2 separate regions of the Homo sapiens genome follow, and region 2 is linked to region 1. The links are contacts of gene promoters, found by promoter capture Hi-C in blood cells and fetal thymus (Javierre and others, 2016). All regions are on one chromosome and are shown on one strand. The core of a region is centred on a gene start or on the middle of the fragment in contact, and the rest is flanking DNA. Distances in the headings are between cores, read along the strand shown. Region 1 holds the start of CENPM (centromere protein M). Region 2 has its middle 34 kb from the start of NFAM1.

The links. The method cuts DNA at HindIII sites, captures the fragments that hold promoters and counts their contacts. A CHiCAGO score of 5 or more calls a contact.
Region 2: a fragment that was not itself captured here is called in contact with the fragment with the promoter of CENPM in region 1 in 1 of 17 cell types (neutrophils); the score reaches 5.1 in neutrophils.

Annotation. Positions count from the first base shown.
Region 1 is chr22:41,944,990-41,950,493 of GRCh38, reverse strand. CENPM (centromere protein M) reads left to right here and starts at 3,342. Exons shown (of 6, transcript NM_024053.5): 1 at 3,342-3,474; 2 at 3,998-4,077; 3 at 4,489-4,581; 4 at 5,190-5,269. The coding sequence starts at 3,418. It also overlaps a transcript of SMIM45 not described here. RefSeq lists an enhancer at 3,329-3,538. The HindIII fragment of the contact is 15,549 bases long and covers 355-5,504 here.
Region 2 is chr22:42,463,544-42,469,630 of GRCh38, reverse strand. No RefSeq gene overlaps it. Among named protein-coding and RNA genes, the nearest start is that of NFAM1, 34 kb to the right of the region's middle. The HindIII fragment of the contact is 2,751 bases long and covers 613-3,363 here.

The DNA of each region.
Region 1 (5,504 bases), core at 2,093-4,592:
ACTTCTGGCCTCAAGCTATCCTCCTGCCTCAGCCTCCCAAAGTACTGGGATTACAGGCGTGAGCCACCACCTGGCCAAAGTGCTTTTTAACATTTTGGGGTGGGAGAGCAGAGGAGTTGGGGGAAGAATCACAAAGGGGCAGGAGTAAACTTTTTGGGGTGAAGGTATGTTCAGGCTCTTAATGGTGATGGTGGCTTCTTAAGTATATACATATGTCAAACTTATCAAATTGTACCCTTGAAATAAGTGTAGTTGATTATACGTGTCCCTTATGCCTCAATAAATCTGTAAAGTATGTGATCCATGGCCTGTCGGCATTGTTTTAGCCACTGATTCCTTATTCATACAAAAGCTTATGGGAAGCTCAATACATAACAGAGATAAAGTGGAGGTTGCTTCGGTTCAATGGTTGGGTGGGGGTGGGGGTTCTGGACCCCACCCACTCGGAATCCCCCGTCTCTCACAGGACCCCAAGTCATCTCCCCAGGGCTCCACAGAAGCCGATTTGAAAAATGCTGGCCCAGAGGACTCTGATGACCCTGCCAGCTTGGGTGTTCAGGATGTAAGAACCTCCAGGCCTCTATCTGGCCTCCTCCCCATCCCTACCCTTCATCATGTATGGATCTTAAACACAACTACTTTCTGTTCAGCCAATGATCACCGCCCCGGTGAAGTGGAGTGCAGGCTCCCCAGGGACACAGAGCAGCTTCCCCTGGGTTCCTGCTGCTCCTGGCTGCTCCCCGATGGCCTCCCCAACTGCAGTGCCTTGTCTCTTGTTACAAGTGGTAACTCCCTGAAGCAGTTTGGCCCCTCTGGGACCAGGGTCCCCAGGGCAGGCACTCAGCACATGCTGACCCAATGGGTCTCAGCCCGGCCCCTCCTGGAAAGTCCCCACCAGAGTCCAAAGTCTTTTCCCAGCCCACCACTCTCTAAGGGCCTCAGTCTCTGGGAGCTCAATCACCTCCGTGGCCTCACCTCCTCCCCTGTTCTTCTTACTCCATCTGCCACAGCCACTGGCCTCCTTGCTACGCCTCGGAAGTGCCAGGAGTGCTTCCCACTCAGGGGCTTTCCACTTGCACTGCCTTCTGCCTGAGGCCTCTTCTTCATCATACTTAAGGGGCCCCTCTCTCACTGAATTCAAGCATCTGCTCAAATGTCACCTTAGGGAGGCCTCCCTGCTCTAAAGTAGCCTCCTCCCATCCATCTCTTCTGCCAGACAGCTTTAGTTTATCTTTCATTTTTTTTTTTTTGAGATGGAGTCTCACATGTCACCCAGGCTGGAGTGCAGTGGTGCGATCTCAGCTCACTGCAACCTCCGCCTCCCAGGTTCAAGTGATTCTCCTGCCTCAGCCTCCCGAGTAGGTGGTATTACAGGCGCCCGCCACCGCCACCATACCTGGCTAATTTGTTTGTTTGTTTTTTGTTTTTGTGATGGAGTTTCGCTCTTGTTGCCCAGGCCAGAGTACACTGGCATAATCTCAGCTCACTGCAACCTCTGCCTCCCAAGTTCAAGCGATTCTCCTACCACAGCCTCCCAAGTAGCTGGGATTACAGGCATGCACCACCACGCCCAGCTAATTTTGTATTTTTAGTAGTACAGACAGGGTTTCTCCATGCTGGTCAGGCTGGTCTCAAACTCCTGATGTCAGGTGATCCGCCCGCCTCGGCCTCCCAAAATGCTGGGATTACATGCGTGAACCACCATGCCCACCCTGCTCAGCTAATTTAAAAATTTTTTTGTAGAGATGAGGTCTCACTATATTGCCTAGGCTGGCCTCAAACTCCCGGCCTCAAGTGATTCACCCGCCTCGGTCTCCCAAAGTGCTGGGTTATAGGCATGAGCCACGGCGTTCAGCTTACTTTATTTTCTTGTCATAGTGCCTACTACTGCTTGACTTTCAGGAAGTCCTCTCCACACCCCATGCCATGAGGAATGAAAGCCGTATCTGTGCTGAGGGCAGTGGCTCTATGGGGCCATTTACGTCCTGATCTTTCTGAGCAAGACACAGTTAGTTTAGTCTGCAGTAAGAAGGATTTAGGCTAGACAGTGTCTCTGCTCTCCCAGTTATTACAACAATGAACACACTGTTATCATTGTCTATCCCACCCCCATCAAACTAAGTTAATCAATAATGTCTGATTCAACTGACTTCCTAGGGTAGGGCATTGGGTCTGGGCATAGGAAATGATGAATGAATGACTGCTGAGAATGAATGGATGAATGTAATCCATCCATTCACTCAACAAATATTTATTAACTACGATGTACCAGGGACTTTTAGAGTGCTGGACATACAAAGTGACAAAGTCTCTAACCTCTTGTTTCTTACATTTTAGATGTAGAGACAGTGAACAAGTTATTATATAACTGTTGGCAGAACCAGTTTGCTATGGGCCCTGAGCGTCCCTGCATGTTCTTGCTGGGTATGTCAAGAAAGCAAGACCCTGACAGCTCTGTACTCAGGCTGTGTTTGCAGCAAGGAACCTTGAAAGATGAGGTAAAGTCTCCCATTGGACAAAGAACAGCATGCTTACCACTCACTGTAAAAGCAGTCAATTGGCAGGGCCTGCTGGTGTGCAGCGGTAGTCCCAGCTACTCAGGAGGCTGAAGCAGGAGGGCTGCTTGAGGCCAGGAGTTTACGACCCACCTGGGCAACATGGCCAGATCCCCATGGTGGCACTTGCCTGTAGTTCCAGCTACTCAGGAGGCTAAGCCAGGAAGATGACTTGAGCCCAGGAGTTTGAAGCTGTAGTGAGCTATGATCGTGTCACTATAGTCCAGCCTGGGCAACAAAGTGACGCTCCAAAAAAAAAAAAAAAAAAAGGGCCAGGCACGGTGGCTCACGTCTGTAATCTCAGCACTCACTTTGGGAGGCCGAGGCGGGATCACTTGAGGCCAGGAGTTTGAGACCGGCCTGGGCAACTTGGAGAAACCCCGTCTCTACTAAAAATAAAAAAATAAGTCGGGCGTGGTGACGCGCGCCCGTAGTCCCAGCTCCTTGGGAGGCTGAGGCAGGAGAATCGCTTAAACTCGGGAGGCAGAAGTTGCAGTGAGCCGAGATTGCGCGCATTGCACTCCAGCCTGGGCCACAAAGCGAGACTCTGTCTCAAAAAAAAAAAAAAAAAGTACTGTGTATGAGCATGAATGAATGAAAGTGAACAAAGGAATCACTAAAAACCTGCTTACTGTGGAGCGTGGAACCAAAGGCCTGTCCACCACGTGTTCCACGGGTAGCGCTGGAACGCCCCTCAGAAAAGGAGATAAAGGTTCGGTTCCTTTAAGAGGCCCCGTCCCGTCCCGCGAAGCCCCGCCTATAAGGAGGCACGTGCCCCCAGGCCGCGCTCTAGGGGCTGGACTCAGGGCGGTTTGAAAGATCGGCGCGCACCGCAGGAGCAACGGTTGGTCCTGCGGCTGTGATGTCGGTGTTGAGGCCCCTGGACAAGCTGCCCGGCCTGAACACGGCCACCATCTTGGTAGGTGCAGGCGGCCCTGCTTCCCCCGCCGGTTTTTCCTCCTGGGCGGTGCTTCAGCCACTAGGTCAACTGAGCTCTCTGAGGCGCCAAGCCAGCGCGCGCTACCGTGGCGGGGGCGGGGAATAGGCGGAGAGCCATGCTCTGAACCAATTGGAGTAGCCGCTCTCTGAGGTTGAGGGACGCACCCACCAATAGGTGCTCGGCGGACCCTTTCCCAGCTTCTGATTGGCGAGTTCCCGCGCCTGGAATTGGTTTTCCCGCGTCTGGGGGTCTGGCCTCCTGGAGAGGCCGGCGGTGGGAGCGAGGGTCGGGTAGTAGAGAGTGCGGTGCCCACAGGCCTGCAGCGGGTCCAAACCTCAGGCCCCCAGCCCGTGCCGCTTCGCGGGGTCCACTTCTCGGGAAATGTCCTCCGAGCCGCCTGCTGGCGGTGTCCCGATCCCCCCGGGAGTGGGTCGAAGGGCCAGGCCCTCCCCAGGGGGTGCTGTGCCTAGGGCTCGACTGTCCGCTCTCTCTCCCTGCGCAGCTGGTGGGCACGGAGGATGCTCTTCTGCAGCAGCTGGCGGACTCGATGCTCAAAGAGGACTGCGCCTCCGAGCTGAAGGTGTAAGTAGCCGCGGCTGTGGCCTGGGCCCACGTGTCTCTCACTCCAGAGGGATTCGGTCCTAGCTGCTAAACTCCGAAGCCCAGCGCCCCCTCCTCTGAGGCTGGTCCTTCTCCCAGCATGCAGCGTAGCTGGCTAGTCCCATGCCGTCTTATATCCCAACCTCCCCTTGCCGAGGTGGTGACTAAACAGAGCCCGTTTCTGGCAGAGGGAATCAGACAGGAGTAATCTGAATAGGACCGGACCTGTCCTGCCTCTGTGCTGGCCCAAGGAGTCGTGGCCACAAGAGCCTCGGGTGGCTAGGATGAGGTGGGGAGCCCTTGACGGCCTCTTTCCACATGAAGGGCAGCATTTAAACGGTCGCTATGAGGGGGGTACGGATATCTTGAGTCCTGCAATTTCCTGTTTTTCAGCCACTTGGCAAAGTCCCTCCCTTTGCCCTCCAGTGTGAATCGGCCCCGAATTGACCTGATCGTGTTTGTGGTTAATCTTCACAGCAAATACAGGTGAGAGCCAGAGGAAGGGGCAGTCAGGGCTCAGGCAGGCCTGGCTCAGGACTGTGCTGAGACGGTGACCTAACTTGTGATGGGAAGTGGTGAGGATGGGAGAGGCTGGCTGAGGTCAATCTGTAAGGTGAGGAGAGAGGAGCCAGTGGTCAGTGCACAATGTTTAAAATACACAACGGCCGGGCACAATGGCTCACACCTGTAATCCCAGCACTTTGGGAGGCCAAGGTGGGCAGATTGCCCGAGACCAGCCTGGGCAACATGGTGAAACCCCGTCTCTACTAAAATACAAAAATTAGCCAGGCGTGGTGGCATGTACCTGTAGTCCCAGCTACTCGGGAGGCTGAGGCAGGAGAATCATTTGAACCCAGGAGGCAGAGGTTGCAGTGAGCCAAGATCGCGCTACTGCACTCCAGCCTGGGCAACAAAGTGAAACTCCATCTAAAAAAAAAAAAAAAAAAAAAATTAAAGGACAAATATTTCTCCAGAGAAAGTCACCCTCTTGTCATTCTCTGGCCTCTAGGATCAGAGAAGCAAGGACTTCTGCTTTCTCCGTTGTAAAGTTTTGTTCTCTGGTTTGTTTTCTCACCCTGGCCTGGCCACCCCAGTCTCCAGAACACAGAGGAGTCCCTGCGCCATGTGGATGCCAGCTTCTTCTTGGGGAAGGTGTGTTTCCTCGCCACAGGTGGTAAGTACGTTCCTCGCCTGTTACTGCCCACCCCCAGCCAAGGGAAAGCTGGGGCGGCCGTAGGCTTCTTGCTGAGGCACCCTGGGTGATGGAAAGAGCATGTATTTTACACACACTGGGGCCTATCGGAGGGTGGAGGGCAGGAAGAAGGAGAAGATCTGGAAAAATAACTAATGGGTACTAGGCTTAATACCTGGGTGACAATGATCTGTACAACAAACCCCATGACACAAGT
Region 2 (6,087 bases), core at 739-3,238, 520 kb before region 1:
TATCTTTCAGTTCTAAATATTTTCTGATTTCCCTTATGATATCTTCTTTAACTTTTATGTTAGGCAATCCATGAATTTAAATTTTAAAACATACGGGTTTAGAAAATCATTTTATAATGTCTTTCTAACCTGATTGCATTGTAGCCAAATACCAATTTATTGTACGTGTTGAGCATGACACTGCGACCTGCTACACATGCAGTCTAAAAAAACTTTTTTTTTCATTTCAGTCTTAAAATTATTTCTTCAAAGACAACATGTACAATTTTTGTAAAAGTACTATGTGTGCTTGGAAAGATATAGTCTCTAATTCTTGGGTATAGGAGTCTCTTATTGCCCATTCATCTTTAGGAGAATATCTCCATTTTTGCCTGCTTGGTCTGTCAATTCCTGAGAGATGGATAGGATGCAGATTATGACTTTCTACTGTAATATTACATGTGGTGGCCATGGACTTACACCGCTCAGATTCCCCTTCAAAGGGACCTGACCCCAGTTGCTCCCAGGCAATGACTAATCACCAAGGGGGTGCTGGAGCCCCACCACATCTGCCTGGTGCAAGACTCCTCTAACAGTCATTGCTTGGAGACTCATCATCTGCCTGGCCAAGCTTGCTCAGAGTCCTGCTGCAGCCTGAGGCTTCCTTCTTCCCTCCCTCCTTTATACGTCAGACCTGCCTCTGTGGCCTGAAGGCTCTCCTGCTACTTCTTTGCTTCAGTCTCACTCTGTCTCCCAGCCTGGAGGGCAATGGCATGATCACTGCTCACTGCAGCCTCAACTTCCAGGGCCCAATGCAATCCTCCTGCCTCAGCCTCCGAAGTGGCTGGGACCACAGGCATGTGCCTTAGTGCCTAATTATTTTATTTTTCGTAGAGATGGGGGTCTCCCTATGTTGCCCAGGCTGGTCTCAACCCCCTGACCTCAAGCAATCCTCCTGCCTTGGCCTCCCAAAGTGCTGGGATTACAGGCATGAACCACCATGCCCAGCCCCTAGCCTGCTTCTGCACTCTCTCCCCTTCATCCTTCGCCAGATCTCTTGTGTATCTAATGCCATCTTGGTGTTTATTTCTTGAAATCCAAACTAGCACAGGGAATTTGTCCATTTCTCCTTGTAATTCTGACAATTCTTGACGTATTTTGGGGTACATGAAAGTTCTTATATATTGCTGATGAATTGTTCCTATTATTGTATATGATAATCCTAATTCTTAATAGCACACTTTATCAAATGTCTATGCCCCTGAACAATACATAGTATTGTTCTATATTTTTGCAACTTTAAAGTTGTTTTGAAGTATTCCTCTCCAATTTATGTTTTTGAGGTTTATTCATGTAGATATGTGTAGTTGCAGTTTATTTTTACTGCTTTACATTAATCTGTTATGTGAATAAAATACGATCTATTTATCTCCTCTGTTACTGAAGGACACATAGCTTATTTCCAAATTTTCTCTATTGCACATAAGGCTACTGTAGACTATCTTTTCTTTTCTTTCTTCTTTTTTTTTTTTTGAGATGGAGTTTCGCTTTTGTTGCCCAAGCTGGAGTGCAATGGCGTGATCTTGGCTCACTGCAACCTCTGCCTCCTGGGTTCAAGTGATTCTCTTACCTCAGCCTCCCTAGTAGCTGGGATTATAGGCATGTGCCACCACCCGCATGCTCATCTTCCACATGCGCCCTGCTAATTTTGTATTTTTAGTAGAGATGGGGTTTCTCCACGTTGGTCAGGCTGGTCACGAACTCCCTACCTCAGGTGATCTGCCCGCCTCAGCCTCCCAAAGTGCTGGGATTACAGGTGTGAGCCACCTCACCCAGCCTGCTGTAAACATTCTTACGCATAGAACATGGTGTTCATATACGAAAGTTTCCTTAGGATATTTGCCTGGCAATAAAACTCCTAGGTCATAGCACATGTACATCTTCAATAGAAAAAATGTCCAATTGCTCTCTGCAGTGTTTGTCCTTATTCACACACAACTAGCACAGATATGGGTTTTCTTGTCTCCATATCTTTGCCTATACTTGGTATTATTAGGCTCTGATATTTTTGACAATCTGATACTATCTTATTGTGGCTTTTTATGTATGTATGTATGTATATATGTATTTGAGATGGAGCTTTGCTCTTGTCACCCAGGCTAGAGTGCAATGGCGCGATCTCAGCTCACTGCAACCTCCGCCTCCCAGGTTCAAGTGGTTCTCCCACCTCAGCCTCCCAAGTAGCTGGGATTACAGGTGTGCGCCACCATGCCTGGCTACTTTTTGTATTTTTAGTAGAGATGGGGTTTCACCATGTTGGCCAGGCTGGTCTCGAACTTCTGACCTCAGGTAATCTGCCCGCCTTGACCTTCTAAAGTGCTGGGATTACAGGTGTGAGCCACTGCATCAGGCCAGCTTATTATTATTATTATTATTATTATTATTATTAGAGACAGAGTCTCACTGTATCACTCAGGCTGGAGTGCAATGGCATGATCACAGCTCGCTGCAGACTTGACATCCCAGGCTCAAGCAGTCCTCCCGCCTCAGCCTCCCAAGTAGCTGTGACTACAGCCATGCATCATGCCCAGGTAATTTTATTTTATTTTTGTAGAGACTGGGTCTCACCATGTTGCCGAGGTTGGTCTCAAACTCACAGGTTGCAGAGCTCAAGCAATCTGCCTGCCTTGGCTTCCCAAAGTGCTGGGATTACAGGTGTGAGCCATGGTGGCCGGGCCCAGTGGCTCACACCTGTAATCCCAGGACTTTGGGAGGCCGAGGTGGGTGGATCACCTGAGGTCAAGAGTTCAAGACCAGCCTAGCCAACATGGCAAAACCCCGTCTCTACTAAAAATACAAAAAAATTAGCCAGGTATGGTGACGCGTGCCTGTAGTCCCAGCTACTTGGGAGGCTAAGGCAGGAGAAGTGCTTGAACCTGGAAGGCGGCAGTTGCAGTGAGCCAAGATCGTGCCATTGCACTTAAGCCTGGGTGACAGAGTGAGAACCTGTCTCAGAAAAAAAAAAAAAAAGAAGGCATCTTGCCCGCAGCTATTCCATGTTGTGACCATGGATGGCCCTGTCTGCTGCTGCAAGTCATTCTTGCAAATAAAATAATTATCAACTTGTCTATATGCATAACATACTTTATATAAACTCTATCATATCAGTGGTGTTCCAAGAACAAATTTGGGAATCAAAATAAGTCTTAAAATCGGCAATGTTGACACATGAAGTGTTATTTGCAGTGACACATGAAGTACTGTTAACCTTGCTAGGAAATCCAAAAATTACATTATTTGAATATCACCCAATAATGGTCACTGGTTTTTCCCGTGTTGTAATATGCCCTATAGGCTACAGTTCTTTATAAATAGTATTAAGCTTAATGTTTCTTATTTGTCAAATACATTTTTAGGTGATTGGGTTAAGAGTATGAATCATGTTGGAAGCATTTTAGGAATAGCTTATGATTTGGGGAATTCCCAAGAATTCCTGGGAATTCTGATTTCTTATTCCTGCCTGAATCTTAAACTTTAATATCTGTCAGAATTTGGAAACGGTTTTACTCATTGAGGCAATGTTGCTTACTTGAAAAGCACACCATTGCTTCTATTAAACATTTTTTTTTCTGTCAAAAGAGAGCTGGAGTAATATCATAATTTTTTGAGACAGGGTCTCACTCTGTTGGCTAGGCTGGAGTGCAGTGGCACAACCATGGCTCACTGCATCCTCAACCTCCCAGGCTCAGGGGAGCCTCCTGACTCAGCCTCCTGAGTAGGTGGGACTGCAGGTGCACACCACCACACTCGGCTAATTTTCAAATTTTTTGTAGAGATGGGGTCTCACTCTGTTGTGCAGGCTAGTCTTGGAACTCCTGGCCTCAAGCAATCCTCCTGTCTCAGCCTCCCAAAGTGCTGGGATTACAAGCATGAGCTACGACACCTGGCTCTCCACTACCGCTTCTTGAGTTGGTATAGCATAGTGTTTAAGAATGTGGACTGTTGTAGCCAAACCTTGACCTGTGACCAGGGCAAGTTTTAACCCCTCTGTGACTCAGTTTCCCCATCTGTAAAGGGAGTATGATAGTAATCACACCCAGTTCTGAGGGTTAACATGAGAATTAAATAAATAAGAGGCCGGGCATGGTGGCTCACACCTGTAATCCCAGCATTTTGGGAGGCCGAGGCGGGCAGATCACTTGAGGTCAAGAGTTCAAGACCAGCCTGGCCAAGATGGTGAAACCCTGTCTCTACTAAAAATACAAAAATTAGCTGGTTGCGGTGGTGAGCACCTGTAATCCCAGCTACTCAGGGAGCTGAGGCAGAAGAATCACTTGAACCTGGGAGGCAGAGTTTGCAGTGAGCCGAGATTGCACTATTGCACTCCAGCCTGGGTGACAGAGCAAGACCCTGTCTTTAAAAAAAAAAAAAAAAGAAAGAAAGAAAAAGAATTAAATAAATAAGGAAAGGTACAAACCACCACACTCGGCTAATTTTTACATTTTTTGTAGAGAAAATCCTTAGAACAGTGCCTGGTGTACAACAACCACTCAATAAATGAGACATTATTATTGTTTCCAAGTCTTTTCTTCCTCTGGGTTGACTTTTCTCTTTCATAAAGTGCATTTTTACTAGTACAGCATTTCCAGTGAGTGTGGCAAACAGCCTCTGTCTTCATTCTAAAATATATATATTTTTGCCCTCATCCTAGAACAATAATCATGCTAAGCATAGGATTCTAGGTTGACAATTCCTTTGAAAACACTGCTTAGCTGCCTTCGGAGATTTTGGTTGCTGTTGAGAAGTCTTCTGTCAGCAGAATTGTTACCCGTAGGTGAGGTGCCTTCTTTTTCTAGTTGTTCCTATGGTTGTCTTTGTGTCTTTTGTAGCTTACAGTTTCTCTATAGCGTGCCGAGGTGTAAATTTATTCTTACTTATTGCTCAGAGCCATTTCTGCTTCTTGAGCCCAACGAGTTAGGTCTTCTACCAATTCTCAAAAAACTGTCCATGCGATTTCTTTGAATCTCACCTCTCCCTTTTTTCTTTTCTTTTCTTTTTTTTTTTTTTTTTGTTTTTTGAGACAGAGTTTCGCTCTTGTTGCCCAGGGTGTAGTGCAATGGTGTGGTCCTGGCTTACCACAACCTCCGCCTCCCCAGTTCAAGCGATTCTCCTGCCTCAGCCTCCAGAGGAGCTGGGATTACAGGCATGCACCACCACGCCCGGCTAATTTTTTTGTATTTTTAGTAGAGACGAGGTTTCACCATGTTGGCCAGACTGGTCTTGAACTCCTGACCTGAGGTGATCCTCCCGCCTCAGCCTCCCAAAGTGCTGGGATTACAGGCGTAAGCCACTGCGCCTGTGCCCTTTTCTTTTAGAATTCCTATTAAATGAGCAGCATGCCTTTCAATTTATTCCCTGTGTCTCTTAATCTCTCCTGACTTTTTTTTTTTTTTTTTTTTTGTATATTTCTCTCTCCACTCTGCATTCTGGATTTTTTTTTCTTTTTCTGTTTTGAGACAGAGTTTCACTCTTATTGCCCAGGCTGGAGTGCAATAGCACGATCTCGGCTCACCACAACCTCTGCCTCCCGGGTTCAAGTGATTCTCCTGCCTCAGCCTCCCAAGTAGCTGGGACTACAGGCATGCGCCACCACGCCCAGTTAATTTTGTATTTTTAGTAGAGACAGGGTTTCTCCATGTTAGTCGGGCTGGTCTTGAACTCCTGACCTCAGGTGATCCACCCACCTCAGCCTCCCAAAGTGCTGGGATTACAGGCATGAGCCACTGTGCCCAGCCTAGATATTTTTTTTCATATCTTCTAGTTTATCAATTCTCTCTTCATCTGTGTCCAATCTGTCATTAAGCCTGTCCTAAGTGTTAAATTTCATTATTGATATTGTTCATTTCTAGAAGCTCTATTTGGAGCTTTATGTTTTGTTTCATACTTTTTATTATAGAAAATTCAAATGTATATAAAATTAGAGACAATGGAATAAACCTCTCTACTTATTAACCTTTTTCTTATTTACTCATTTTTTTTTTATAGAGATGGCATCTCACTATGTTGCCCAGGCTGGTCTCGAACTGCTGGGTTCAAGCAATCCTCCCA